Regions from separate parts of the Homo sapiens genome. Here region 1 is linked to region 2. The links are contacts of gene promoters, found by promoter capture Hi-C in human tissues and cell types (Jung and others, 2019). All regions are on one chromosome and are shown on one strand. The core of a region is centred on a gene start or on the middle of the fragment in contact, and the rest is flanking DNA. Distances in the headings are between cores, read along the strand shown.

Region 1 (6,739 bases), core at 3,345-5,844, 200 kb before region 2:
AAGAATTACATTAAGGCCAGTGTGATGACTCACGCCTATAGTCCTAACACTTTGGGAGGCCGAGGCTGGAGGACTGCTTGAGCCTAGGAGTTTGAGACCAGCCCGGGCAACATAGGAAGACCCTCTCTGTACAAATAATAAATAAAATAATTTTTTTTAAAGAAAAGAATTTTAAAAAGAAAAAATGAATTAAAAAAGGAAAAAAAGAGGAATTAAAAAAAAAAAAAAGAAATTAGTGGGGAAGCAGAATTTGCTCCACAAAAGAGCCACCAGAATGGCAAAAGGGCTGGAAAATGGGACTTCGGAGAAAAAAGGGACGGAACTGTTTCTTTCCCAGGAGTCAGTTTACAAGGGGGACGCATGAGCTGTCCTCAAGCATATGATGAAATAATTACCAGCAATGTTCTAGCTGCACAGGACAGAACAAAATAAATACACTGCACTTGAACCAGGGGAAGGCTGGCTAGACAAAAAGGAAAAAATGACTTGAATACAAGCCCACATTCAAGCCTGTTGCAGGCGGCGCAAAGCCACCCCTGGTAGCCTCTCCAGCTGGAACGCGGCAGGCCTGTGGCAGGGGCTGCCCCCACGGCCTTCAGCGCCCTGACAGCTGGGAGAAGGGGGAACATTTCTTTTCACATCATACAAAGATGCACATAACCAGCCCCCACTGACAAACAATGGAGCCTCTTGTGCCATCTCACCAACACTCTCTGAATTGTTTTCAAAATCTGCAACCCAGGAGTAGCTGCCAAATTTCTCTTTAATGCAAGATGTTAAAAATAGGGGATACTGGGGAGGGGAGGAGATTTTAATGCAGATTTTTTTCTGTGAGCCTAAAATTGCTCCACAAAAAGTCTACAGATTAAAAACAAATCCAGAACCCACCTTTAATTGACTTATCATTGAAATAATCTTCTAACCCTGGGCTCCCTTGAGTATCAAAGAGACTCTGATTTACTACAGACACGGTTAGAATCTCTTCTGTTGACATTTCCATCAATTCATCTTCACCATCCAAACTTGACAAACCAATCAAGTCATTATTGTTAAATAAACTTGCTCGAATTTTCTCAATTTTGGCTCGGGATCTTATCTGTGTGAACAGAGAACAGGGTCAGGATTTGAGTAGCTTGACCAGTCATTCAGTGTGAGTGAACTTCTCCCTCCCACCTTTTCCTGGAAACCCTCTATTCATCTGCAGAGATGTGAAAGCTGCCCTACTCTGGTGAGCTGGACCTCCTGGGAAACTTTCTCCCACAGGCCAACAACAGTGACTTTTAGCAAATGACTCAACCTGAAATCTCTGTCACTAAACCCCAGCCAGGTCTGTGGCTTTACTCTGATTCCCAGGGAGGAAAAATTCATGCCTAACTCTGAGGAAGTCCCCATGAAGGAGGATGATGGATTCAAAGAAGTGATTCTAGGAAAGAAACCAGCTGCTTGATCCTTCAACCCTCCTTGCAGAGCCTGCTGGGAGAGTAATGCATGTCAGTTCCCTACCTTACTGTTATGCAAAAGCACAGAAAGGCTCTGATGCAGGATTTCTAAACGGCGAGGCCTAAGGAATACATGGGATCCTGAAGTGGAACTATGACTCACTAGCATGCAGGTCATCTGAAACTCAGAATCACCTGGGACAGAATGGCAGGAGTCTATTCTCATGCTGCTCAGTGACCATCCCTCCTGCCAATGGCAACACCAAAAAGAACAAAAAGAACCCAAGGCCATTCAAGATGCGATGGGGCTGAGTCAGAATGCACTGATGGCGCCCACCCACCGCGGAAGGCCAGGCCCTGAGCCCTCTGGCTCCCCTTTACTTCGTGATATGGGACTTGGTGTCACTCAGAGACGTTACCCCAAGCAGCCTCACTGTGCTCATTCCAAGGGCTGCCCCAGGGAGCCCCCAACCGCTCCACCATTACCTACTAGGAAATAACTTTGGAAGATTTAAAGAGGCTTGGGGGATTGAAATGGGTCATGATTTAGTGGTTGCAGAGGCTTGAAAGCTGTTACCTCCACGACTGCGAAGCCTTTGATGGGGCGGGCGGCGAGGGGCTGGTTGTCCAGGGAAGTGACTGTGTACATGGAGCCCATGTCCGACACCGAGGCCGTCTCTGCATTGTCCAGGGGCTCCCCCAGGCTGCCCAGGCTGCCCAGGCTGCCGGTGCTGCACAGGGAAATGTCCAGGCTTTCCTGGCTGGACACCGCGTGGGGCTCCAACAGGCCCGGAGGGATGGGCAGCTCGAGGCCGGCAGGCAGCGGATCCACAGAGAGGTCGCTGACGGTTTGGGAGATGCCCTGCGAGCTGCAGATGGAGGCCTGGCTGGTGGAGGCGGAGGCGCTGATGCTCATGGCGGGGGTCAGGCTGCTGGACGTGCTGACCTCCATGCTGTCTGTGCCGGGGAAGGCCAGTGTCTTCTCGGGCTCAACTTTCCCGTCCCCGCCCTCGGCCTTGTCTTTTGGCTTCTTGGTGTCTTCTTCCTGCAGCGGGATGTAGATCTCGTCTTTGAAGACCCCGCCGTGGGCGTTGCAGGCCTTGCGGATGGCGCCTCTGACTACGCCCTCGTCCAGGTGGGTGGGGATCCCGGAGATCACCAGCAAGCGGCTGTGGGCGGTGGGGCCCACCAGGGCCTGGCAGGCATCGGCGATGGCGTCACTCGTCACGCCCAGCCCCTGTGGGTCCTTCCTGGTGAGGTGGCGGAGGATGATGAGCAGGGTGAGTGCGCGGTGGAACCACAGCATGTCCTCGGGCTTGCTGCCTCCGATGCTGAGCACGGTGGGGTCCGAGTCCACGGTGCGGGAAGACTGGCGCTTGCCCGACGAGGAGGCCTTTTCCCGCTTCATCTTGACTTTTTTCCTCTTGGAGAGGAGGCTGGGACTCTGTGGGGTCTGTCCTGGGGAGGACGAGGAGGAGGAGGACGAGTCACTGAGATTTGGGGCGGTCGCTGAGGTCACCCCACTGGCTGTGACACTCATGTTAGTAGGCAGGGTCACTTCGGCCACAGCCAGGCACCCTTCCATGAGTGCATGAAAATACGTAGAGAACCTGCCCTGGTCACCGGCCGCCGCCCCCCCGGAGCCCCCGCAGGCGCCGCCTGAGACCCAGTTCTGCGTCTCCTCGTCGTACAGCTTGTGGAGCTCCGACTGCAAGGCCATCAGCATGGCCAGGCAGGGGTTCAGCTGGAGGGCGATTGAGGAGGACAGGCCAGCGGGGTGCCGCCTCTGCTCCAGGGTGTGCACCGTGCGCAGGAGCTCTGCCAGGAGATGGAAAACAAGCTCCTTCACGCAGGCTGCCATGTCCGTGGTCCACAAGAAGTTTCCTGAGGCAAATGAAAATAGTAACAGTAATTACTATGCAGCACTGGCTATGTTCCAGGCGCAGTTCTGAGCCTGGAATCAACCCTCATAACAACCCTGTGAACACTGACTGCGCAATTCAGTCCCTTCTTACAGATGGAGAAACAGAGGTTGGGAGGTGGAGGCCTGGCTGGAAGGCACAACAGCTACCAGACAAGAGAGCTAAGATTCAGAGCTGACAGGTCAGCTCCAGAGGTGACGGCTTTGACCCTTGTGCCCAATGGCAGGGTGCCAGCAAAACACCATCATATTTTGTCTCAAAAGGTTATGCAGCATGTTGGTGATAAGTCCCTAGAATAATGTTTCCCAAAGTACTGGATGCTTACTATGGGGCACACAAGCCAATTTTACCAAACAGCACTGAAACACACACTGAAACACTGTTCCTTTTAAACTCCTCTTTTAGTCCTGATTTTTGCCAACAAGAAAGCCTTACTTTGAGGGTGGCATTATTTATTTTATTTTTCTTTTTTGAGACAGGGTCTTGCTCTGTCACCCAGGCTGAAGTGCAGTGGCACAATCATAGCTCACTGTTGCTCCTAGGCTCAAGTGATACCTCAGCCTCCTGAGTAGCTGGGATTACAGGAGTGTGAGACCATGCCCAGCTAATTTTTGTATTATTATTTTTCTTTTGCAGAGACAGTTTTCATGGTTTTGCCATGTTGCCCAGGCTGGTCTAGAACTCCTGGGCTCAAGCAATCCTCCCACCTCAGCCTCCCAAAGTGCTGGGTTTACAGGTGTGTGCCATTGTGCCTGGCCATGAGGCTGGCATATTCTTTTTTTTTTTTTTTTTTAATTATTTTTTTAATAATTTTTTTTTTTTTTGAGAGTGAGTCTTACTCTGGTACCCAGGCTGGAGTGCAGTGGCGTGATCTCAGCTCACTGCAACCTCTGACTCCTGGGTTCAAGCAATTCTCTGCCTCAGCCTCCCGCATAGCTGGGATTACAGGCTCCTACCAGCATGCCCAGTTAATTTTTGTATTTTTAGTAGAGATGGGGTTTCACCATCTTGGCCAGGCTGGTCTTGAACTCCTGACCTACCTCGTGATCCACCCGCCTCAGTCTCCCAAAGTACTGGGATTACAGGCATGAGCCACTGTGCCCGACCTTCTTTAGTAATTTTTTAAGCTGCTTTTTTTTTTTTTTTTTAAATTGAGACAGAGTCTGTCTCTTATCACCCAGGCTGGAGTGCAGTGGCGCGATCTCAGCTCACTGCAACCTCCGCCTCCCAGGTTCAAGCAATTCTCATGCTTCAGTGTCCAGAATAACTTGAATTACAGGCATGTGCCACCACACCCAGCTAATTTTTATATTTTTAGCAGAGATGGGGTATCGTCATGTTGGCCAGGCCGGTCTTGAACTTCTGGCCTCAAGTGGTCCGTGTGCCTCAGCCTCCCAAAGTGCTGGGATTACAGATGTGAGCCACTGTACCTGGCCAAGGCTGGCATATTCTTTTTTGTTTTTTTGAGATGGAGTTTCGCTCTTGTTGCCCAGGCTGGAGTGCAATGGCGTGATCTTGGCTCACCGCAACCTCCGCCTCCCAGGTTCAAGCAATTCTCCTGCCTCAGCCTCCCGAGTAGCTTGGATTACAGGCATGCACCACCACACCCGGCTAATTTTGTATTTTTTGTAGAGACAGGGTTCCTCCGTGTTGGTCAGGCTGGTCTCGAACTCCCGACCTCAGGTGATCTGCCCACAGCCTCCCAAAGTGCTGGGATTATAGGTGTGAGCCACTGCGCCTGGCCGGCTGGCATAGCCTTAAGAGAAAGTGGGCCAGAGTCCCAGAGCCTTTGACAGGGAACAGCATTCAGCTAGATTTTTGTGACGGCAACTATTTTCTTTGAATGTATGTATGTATGAATGGATGGATAGATGGACTGATTGATTGATTGAGACAGGGTCTCATTGTGTTGTCCTGGCTGGTCTTGAACTCCTGGGCTCAAGCCATCCTTTTGCCTCAGCCTCCCAAAGTGCTGGGATTACAGGCGTGAGACACCAGGCCCGGCCTGTATTTATTTTTATGGGTACCTGTTAGTTATGCCAATGGATACTAATTTTGTATTTAAAGAAGTGATGTAAAGGTTTCCTTTCCTTTTTTTTTTTTTTTTTTTTTTGAGACGGAGTCCCACTCTGTCGCCCAGGCTGGAGTGCCGTGGTGCCATCTCGGCTCACTGTAAGCTCCGCCTCCTGGGTTCACACCATTCTCTTGCCTCAGCCTCCCAAGTAGCTGGGACCACAGGCGCCCGCTATCACACCCGGCTAATTTTTTGTATTTTTAGTAGAGACACGGTTTCACTGTGTTAGCCAGGATGGTCTTGATCTCCTGACCTCGTGATCCGCCCGCCTTGGCCTCCCAAAGTGCTGGGATTACAGGCATGAGCCACTGTGCCCAGCCAAGGTTTCCTTAAAACTAAATTTAAGTTTTAAAAAAGGAGGAGTTGATTGCAATAAAAACTGTTAAATATATGCATGCTGGCTGGGCTCAGTGGTTCATGCCTGTAATCCCAGTACTATGGGAGGCCAAGGCAGGTGGGTCACCTGAGGTCAGGAGACTGAGACCAGCCTGGCTAACATGGTGAAATCCTGTTTCTACTAAAAATACAAAAAAATTAGCTGGGCATGGTAGCGGGCGCCTGTATTCCCAACTACTCAGGAGGCTGGGGCAGGAGAATCACTTGAACCCAGGAGGTGGAAGTTGCAGTGAGCTGAGATCGCACCACTGCGCTCCAGCCTGGGTGACAGAGTGAGACTACATTTCAAAAAAATAAAATAAGTAAGTAAATAAATGCTGACAGGCACAATTTGTGGACATGGAAACAATCATATAATGGTGGCATGATAATGACTGAAGTTTGGGAAACACTGTCTAGAACCACAAGATGGACCACACGTTTGTGCCAAGGTCTCCTTCATACCAGAGGCATATCTTACATTCACATAGTCATGTACCCTGGATCTGAGTGGAAAGAGAGAAAGCTCATGTACGTGAGACACGATTAGGGATCATGAACATCTAAAGCCTGTGTCCCACTGAGCCAGCTGAGCCCTTACCCTGCAAAAGAGTGAACTGCAGTTTGCTACATCCAGATGGCTCTTGTACAGGATAAAAGATTACTGGCCGGGGGAATCCCAAGGGCCTGCTGAAGCTGACTTACTAAGTCCAGCACCTACCAAAGAGGGGATCAAGCTTCCTGCTCTCTCAGGACTGACACTGCTTGCGAATTCTGGTTGGAAACAAGTTTGTGACTGTCCTGGAACATGGGCTCTCATAGAACCTCCACAGAGGACAGGTGTCCTTGCTCCCCTCTCTGCTGGGGCACAGGGCTAGGCCCTCAGATGCCAGAACTATTCATGTCACCTCCGTTGTCCTTGCTCTACC
Region 2 (7,353 bases), core at 1,429-3,928:
AAACACAAATCTAATAGCCACAAAAACATTCTTAGCTATCTATTTCTCCTGATACCATGGAGCCTGTATAACATGGAAAGAATGAAACAAGTTATTCACTACTACCAGTCATAAATGTTTATCACCCATACACATACTAGTTGCTGAGAAATCAGACCATAAATTTAAAAAGCAATTAAAAAAAAAAATCTAGCAGGCCAGAGAGGTTCTTTCCTTTGAAAACCATTCTTCTGTGGAAATAGCTGACAAATTCACGCAATACATTTATAAACATTTTAGGAAAACCAACATCACAGATATTTTAACTAATCCTACTCTTTCTAATCCTAAAAATAAACTACATAAATGACATATATGTATAAATTTTGGTTCTGTGAACTTGGATTAGTCTTTAAGAAACAAAGAGCATAGGCACGGCATAGTGGCTCACGCCTGTAATCTCAGCACTTTGGGAAGCCAAGGCAGGCAGATCACTTGAGGTCAGGAGTTCGAGACCAGCCTGGCCAACATGGTGAAACCCTGTCTCTACTAAAAATACAAAAATTAGCCAGGCATGGTGGCGCGTGCCTGTAATCCCAGCAACTCGGGAGGCAGAGGCAGGAGAATCGTTTGAATCCGGGAGGCAGAGGCTGCAGTGGGCTGAGATCGCGCCACTGCACTCCAGCCTGGGCGACAGAGCAAGACTCGGTCTCGGGGGAAAAAAAAGAAAAGAAAGAAACAAAGAGCATCCACTTTCCACCTTTCACACACAACACAGCCAATTAAATCAAAAGATTCCACTATCATAGCATAATACCCCTTGAGTTTTCAGGCAGATAAGACACTCAGACACACCTTGCTTGTTATAGAACAGGCCCAAATGAGACACAATAAAACGATGATTCCATGTTAGGAATTCCCTACCAACCATATCCTCCTCTTTTTGGTGACTAGATTGTAAAATAAGTCAATTAAGAGTTCATAACGGAAGTGCTGAAGCAACCGCAAATCCAGACACAAAAATACAGTGGAACGTATTCGCATCTCAAGCACGTCCAAATGTCTCGGCCAATGTGATCCGATCACTGCCGTTTCCAGAAACACACAGTAATGGCTTTTAATTCATTTCTATAAATGTTCGTTGTGCGTAAAGCCAAACTGCACGCAAAACCGCAAAACACAAAAGATCCCTCGCATGCCGTTTATAGCCAGAAGATAGGCCATCCTCTCTGCGCCCTACCCCAGAAAGCTCTCCTTACGGCAGTAAAAATTTGATGACACCCCATGCTACCTACACATCAAAATGTCATCCCACAAAGTGGAAGGGGAGCAGTGTCAGCATCCGTTGGCCTCCATGAAACGACACTGCCAGTATTCCCACCTCTAGGCAAACACGAACCCAAGTGAAGTCGATGGAAAGTTCCCACCAACCAGGCATATTTGGTTCCCTTCTGCCCCCAAGGCCAAGCAGCTCAACTGATGAGATCTGCTGTTGCACCTGCCACGGCTCTGAACCCGGGATGCTTGGCGACCCCCGGGGCACACAAAAAGGCCCTGCGGCCTAACGCGCCAGTGACCCTTCCCCGAGAGTGCATGGAGGGCCGCTGGAGCATCCCTCTCGCTGTCCACAGCGCCCGCTTCCCTGACAAAGGCCCCGTGTCAATCCATCCGAGACACAACACAGAGAAGTTGCTGGATTGCCCATCGCGGACCCGCAGCTGCCACTACCCTCTCCCGGAAAAAAACCAAACCAAACCAAACAAAAAAAACAGAACTAGGGAAGAAAAGGATGGGAGGGTACACAGCGTGAAAATCAAAATGTTCCCAAAGCTAAGCAACCTGGGTGTGCCCTGGAAGTGGGTCCTGGGGGCCCGTGGGGGAGGGGAGGGAGGGCCCGGGTGGTGGCGGTGGCTCCTCTGGGGCATGAAGGCCGAGCCAGGCGCTAGCCTAATAAAATGCCGGGTGTCGGAACGCTCAAAAGAAAACCACAAATGAAATCCCCTGCGGGCGCCAGGCCCCGAGGAGGGAGGGAGGGAGAGCGGGGCGGGCGGTCCGCAGACCTGCGGCCGCGGCCCCACCTGCCCGCCCCGCGCCCACACACACCTGCCCCGGCAGCCGCCGGGAGGCGAGGCCGCGGCTGAGGCGAGGAGGGGGCCCGACCCGGGGGTGCCGGGCGAGTGGGTCAGTCCGATGGCGGGGGCCGGGGGCCGCCTCGCTCACCTCCAGGTCGGTGTCCGCGGCCTCTGGGGCCCCGAGGATCTCGCTGGGCAGCTCGGCCAGGTCGGTGACCCGGATCAGCCCGTCGTGCAGGAAGATGGTCTCTTCCTTCACCGAGAGCCACTGCGCCGAGTCAGCGGCCGCCGCCGCCGCCGCCGCCGCGGCCGCCGACGAGCCCATGGCCCCGGCTGAAGGCTTGGCGCTGAGGAGCAGACGCCCGGCCGGGGGAAACGGAGCAGGAGCCGCCGCGATCACCAGTCCATGGCAGCGGCCGCCGCGCCCGCCAGCGGCGCCCCACTTGCTGCCTCGCCCGTGCAACTCCGCCCTAGGCGGTCCGAGTCGCCATACCCCCGACCCCGGCCCGGGAGACCCCGGCCCTGCCGCCGCCGCCGCCGCCGCCGCCGCCGCCGCCCTCAGGAGCAGGATCCGCCTCTGCCGCTCGGCAACCAACTGTCAGTGAGACGCCATGTTGGGGGCGGGGCTCCCGGCATGCCTCGCGGAGCGGACAATACAGGCCCCGCCCGCCGCTCCGCCCACCGCTCCGCGGACGAGGCCACCCGGGTGGCCTGGACGTCCGCCTAGCCCTTCGCTGCCGCCTGCCCTCGGCCTGACCTCCGCCGGCCCCTTCTCCCCCTGGCCATTCAGGGTAGCCCTGGCTTTGCAGCGCGCCAGGGAAGAGGACGCCGCTTCCCCCGTCCTGTCCCTACTCAGGTGTGCACCCCTTGCTCGGGCCCGCGCCCCCACCCTGGGCAGAGCATAGAGATCACTCCTTGTTTTCACGTTTAAATGAGATGCAAGCAAAAGGCTGGCGCAGAATAGGCGCTGCACACTTGTTCATAAGCACTTGGTAGAATCACATAGTAGATGATTAATATTGACTGAAAAGTCTAGTACCCAGTAAGCACTCAAAACCTGGTGAAAATAAAGCGTCTGTCCACAATGCTTGGTGCTCAATGCCCGACACTTAATATGTGCTCCATGAGTGGCAATTCTAATTATTGCTATGTTCGTTCCATCAGTGTTCCACACTAATTGACATACACCTTAAAAATATGCTCACTAGGCCGGGTGCGGTGGCTCACACCTGTAATCCCAGCACGGAGGTCAAGGCAGAAGGACTGCTTGAGCCCAGAAGTTTGAGGCCAGCCTGGGCAACATAGGGAGACCCCATCTCTACAAAAAATAAAAATTAGCGGGGCAGGGTGGCAAGCGTCTGTAGTCCTGCTACTCGGGAGGCTGAGGCAAGAGGATCTCTTGAACTCAGGAGGTGGAGGCTGCAGTGAGCTATTATCTTGCCACTGCACTCCAGCCCGGGCGACAGAGGGAGACCCCATCCCTCCCTCCCCACCAAAAATATATATATGCCCACCAGTGCCATTTTATAAAAACAAGAAAGGAAAACTATATGTATAAAGAACAATGCATGAACAAATACACACCAGATGTTTAAGGTGAGTTGCCATGGGAGTGTGGGGCTGGTCTGGAACTACTGAGATGAGATTGTTCTCTATTACTTGTATATTTTTATCACTTAAAAAATAATAAAACAGGCCGGGCACAGTGGCTTACACCTGTAATCCCAGCACTTTGGGAGGCCAAGGTGGGCAGATCACCTGAGGTCAGGAGTTCGAGACCAGCCTGGTCAACATGATGAAACCCTGTCTCTGCTAAAAAAAATACACAAATTAGCCAGGAATGGTTGCACATGCCTGTAGTCCCAGATACTCAGGAGGCTGAGGCAGGAGAATAGCTGGAACCCAGGAGGCGGAGGTTGCAGTGAGCCGAGATCATGCCACTGCACTCCAGCCTGGGCAACAGAGCAAGACTCCATCTCAATAATAATAATAATAATAATAATAACAATAACAATAACAGGAGAACATTAAGGTGCATACCCTTTGATCCAGCAATTCAACTTTGAGGAAGTTGTCTGAAGGAAATAATCAGACTCGTAGTCAAGGATGGATATACAGGGTTGTGTAGCTCAATATTGTTTACAAAAGGAAAAACTTATCAATCTAGATGTCCAACAATATGGGGCTGGTTAACTAAAATATGATATATCCATAAGATGGAATATTATGGCCGGGCACAGTGGCTCACGTGGGTAATCCCAACACTTTGGGAGGCCAAGGCTGGCAGATCTCTTGAGCCCAGAAGCTCGAGACCCCCTTGGGCAACATGACAAAACCCCGTCACTACAAAAAATACAAAAATTAGCCAGGCGTGGTGGTGCACACCCATAGTCCCAGCTACTCAGGAGGCTGAAGCAGGAAGATCGTTTGAGCCCAGAAGGCAGAAGTTGCAGTGATTCAGCTAAGATTATGCCACTGCACTCCAGCCTGGGCAACAGAGTAAGACCCTGTCTCAAAAAAGAAGAAAAGAAGAGGAAGAGGAGGAAGAAGAGAACAATAAATCCAGCAGTTCAGAGTTGATCAGAACCATGGAAACAATAAAACAGGCAAGTGTAATGGAATGGCCATTTCATCAAATCCTCCCAAATGTCTGAGAGGGGGAGTATTATTATTCCTACTTTCAGCTGGGAAGTCAAGACTCAGTTAGATACTTTGCTCAATGTCACAAAGCCAGTAAACATCAAAGCTCAGATGTAAACCCAGGTCTGTCCGATTTTACAACTTCAGCTTCCTTATTTTGACTGTAAGAAAACTCCTTCATTCCTTTTTTTTTTTTTTTTGAGACGGAGTCTTGCTCTGTTGCCCAGGCTGGAGTGCAATGGCATGATCTCGGCTCACTGCAACCTCTTGACTCACTGCAACCTCTGCCTCCTGGTTTCAAGTGATTCTCCTGCCTCAGCCTCCCGAGTAGCTGGGATTACAGGCGTGCACCACCATGCCTGGCTAATTTTTGTATTTTTAGTAGAGACGGGGTTTTACCATGTCGGTCAGGCTGGTCTCGAACTCCTGACCTCGTGATCTACCCGCCTCGGCCTCCCAAAGTGCTGGGATTACAGGTGTGAGCCACCGCGCCCGGCCCTTCATTCCCTTTTCCAAACCTAATAACAACTATCTATCACAATTAAAAATATATATATAGGCTGGATGTGGTGGCTTGCACCTGTAATCCCAGCATTTTGGGAGGCTGAGGCAGGCAGATCACCTGCGGTCAGGAGTTCGAGAGCAGCGTGGCCAACATGGCAAAACCCTTTCTCTACTAAAAAATATATAAAAATTAGCCAGGTGTCGTGGCGTGCACCTGTAGTCCCAGCTACTCAGGAGGCTGAGGCAGGAGAATCACTTGAACCCAGGAGGCGGAGGTTGCGGTGAGCCGAGATAGCGCCATTGCACTCCAGCCTGGGCAACAAGAGTGCAACGCTGTCTCTAAATAAATAAATAAATAAATAAACAAGCAAAATTAGGTGAGCATCGTGATGTGCAGCTGTAGTCCTAGCTACTTAGAAGGCTGAGGTGGGAGGATTGCTTGAGCCCAGGAGGTTGAAGCTGCAATGAGCCATGGTTGTGTCACTGCACTCTAGCCTGGGTGACAGAGAGAGACCCTGTCTCTATTATTTATTTTATTTTATTTTTTTTGAGACAGAGTCTTGCTCTGTCACCCAGGCTGGAGTGCAGTAGTGCAATCTTGGCTCACTGCAACCTCCATCTCCTGGGTTCAAGTGATTCTCCTGCCTCAGCCTCCCGAGTAGCTGGGATTACAGGCATGTACCACCACGCTCGGCCAATTTTGTATTTTTAGTAGAGGCGGGGTTTCACCATGTTGGTCAGGCTGGTCTCAAAGTCCTGACCTCAGGTGATCCACCCACCTCGGCCTCCCAAAGTGCTGGGATTACAGGCATGAGCCACTGCGCCTGGCCCATTTTATTTTATTTATTTATTTCGAGATGGAGTTTCACTCTGTCACCCAGGCTGGAGTGCAATGGCTAGATCTTGGCTCACTGCAACCTCCGCCTCCCGGGTTCAAGTGATTCTCCTGGTTCAGCCTCCCGAGTAGTTGGGATTACAGGCACCCACCACCACACCCGGCTAACTTTTGTACGTTTAGTAGAGATGGGGTTTCACCATGTTGGCCAGGCTGGTATTTTTTCATTTTTAAAAAAATTTTTTTAGAGATGGGCTCTGCCTGTGTTGCCTAGGCTGATCTCCAACTCCTAGCCTCACGTGATATTCACACCTTGGCCTCCCCAAAGCACTGGGATTACAGGCATGAGCCACTATGACCGGCCCATCACAATTTTTAAATGCTTAGATTCAGGACTCTAACCATCTTAAATAGTTCAGATAAAATTTCTTCTATACTTAGTCTTATTTCTTCTACTCTTAATGATGTTTTAAGATCAGGAGTCAAGGTGCCCAGGAACTCTTGTCCTTCAGCCTAAGTGATGAAAACAGCACAGATCTAGGGCTTAAAGTCTTTAGACTGCATAATGAATAGTTATTTAATATTTTAGCAACAGTAATTAATTAGTCATAGGACTGCATGGCTGCCACTGCACCATGATGAGGCAGCTGATGAATTAATATTTATAGAACCCCCTCCGGAAAGGAGACCATTTAGTAGGGATTTCTAGAACAGATCAGCAAGACAAAGAAAATGCCTGGTCAAAAGAACTTTAGGTTGGAAGCTACGAGGAAGAGAATCTGTATCTAGTCTAGACAACACACACATACACACACAAGACATTCATTTATAGGAAGGAAAGATTTATGGCTTATGACTTCTTTTCTTTGGAATCGTCATTTCTACTCTTCTATTCAAGAATGGGGGATCAGGATGGGAAAAGGAGCAAGAGAAAGTGTTGGCTGGGCAACCCTAAGTTAGAAGCAGAGAAGAAATATGAGGAAAATAGGAAGAATAGCTATGACTAGGTTGGACCTCAGTTACTCCTGGGAGGCATCTCCCCAAGAGGGAGCAGCAGGCTTGTTGATGGAGATCATCTCCCTCCTGCCCCAGCTGCTGACGTGATACTCGCTAGCCCTGGCTCAAGCTGGGGCCCCTCTGGGATTTTGCAATATCTCTCCCTTCTGCTGGTTTTCTATACCAGCTGACTGTCTAAAATGACTTCGTAATCCTTCCTGGGTCCAAAAATATGTGAGTGTGGTGTGAAGATAAGTGGTCCTTGATAAACTTTATTAGAGCTTAAAGGTGGTTTTAGATGAGGCAGCCATGTTAATTTTTAAGGCC

The links. Contacts are between HindIII fragments. The study calls those that stand out against the background at their distance.
Region 1: a fragment that was not itself captured here is called in contact with the fragment with the promoter of HECTD4 in region 2 in 3 of the 25 tissues and cell types used here (IMR-90 fibroblasts, dorsolateral prefrontal cortex and lymphoblastoid cells).

The regions. Positions count from the first base shown.
Region 1 is chr12:112,182,171-112,188,909 of GRCh38, forward strand. It overlaps HECTD4 (HECT domain E3 ubiquitin protein ligase 4), which reads right to left. Exons shown (of 76, transcript NM_001388303.1): 61 at 2,017-3,323; 62 at 889-1,096. Among named protein-coding and RNA genes, the nearest start is that of MIR6861, 22 kb to the left of the region's middle. RefSeq lists a silencer at 1,075-1,369 and enhancers at 1,824-2,392, 2,393-2,962. The HindIII fragment of the contact is 8,527 bases long and covers 332-6,739 here.
Region 2 is chr12:112,379,753-112,387,105 of GRCh38, forward strand. HECTD4 (HECT domain E3 ubiquitin protein ligase 4) reads right to left here and starts at 2,679. Exons shown (of 76, transcript NM_001388303.1): 1 at 2,200-2,679. The coding sequence starts at 2,376. RefSeq lists enhancers at 637-1,137, 2,323-2,822 and silencers at 1,830-2,319, 2,330-2,599, 2,710-2,999. The HindIII fragment of the contact is 28,101 bases long and covers 1-7,353 here.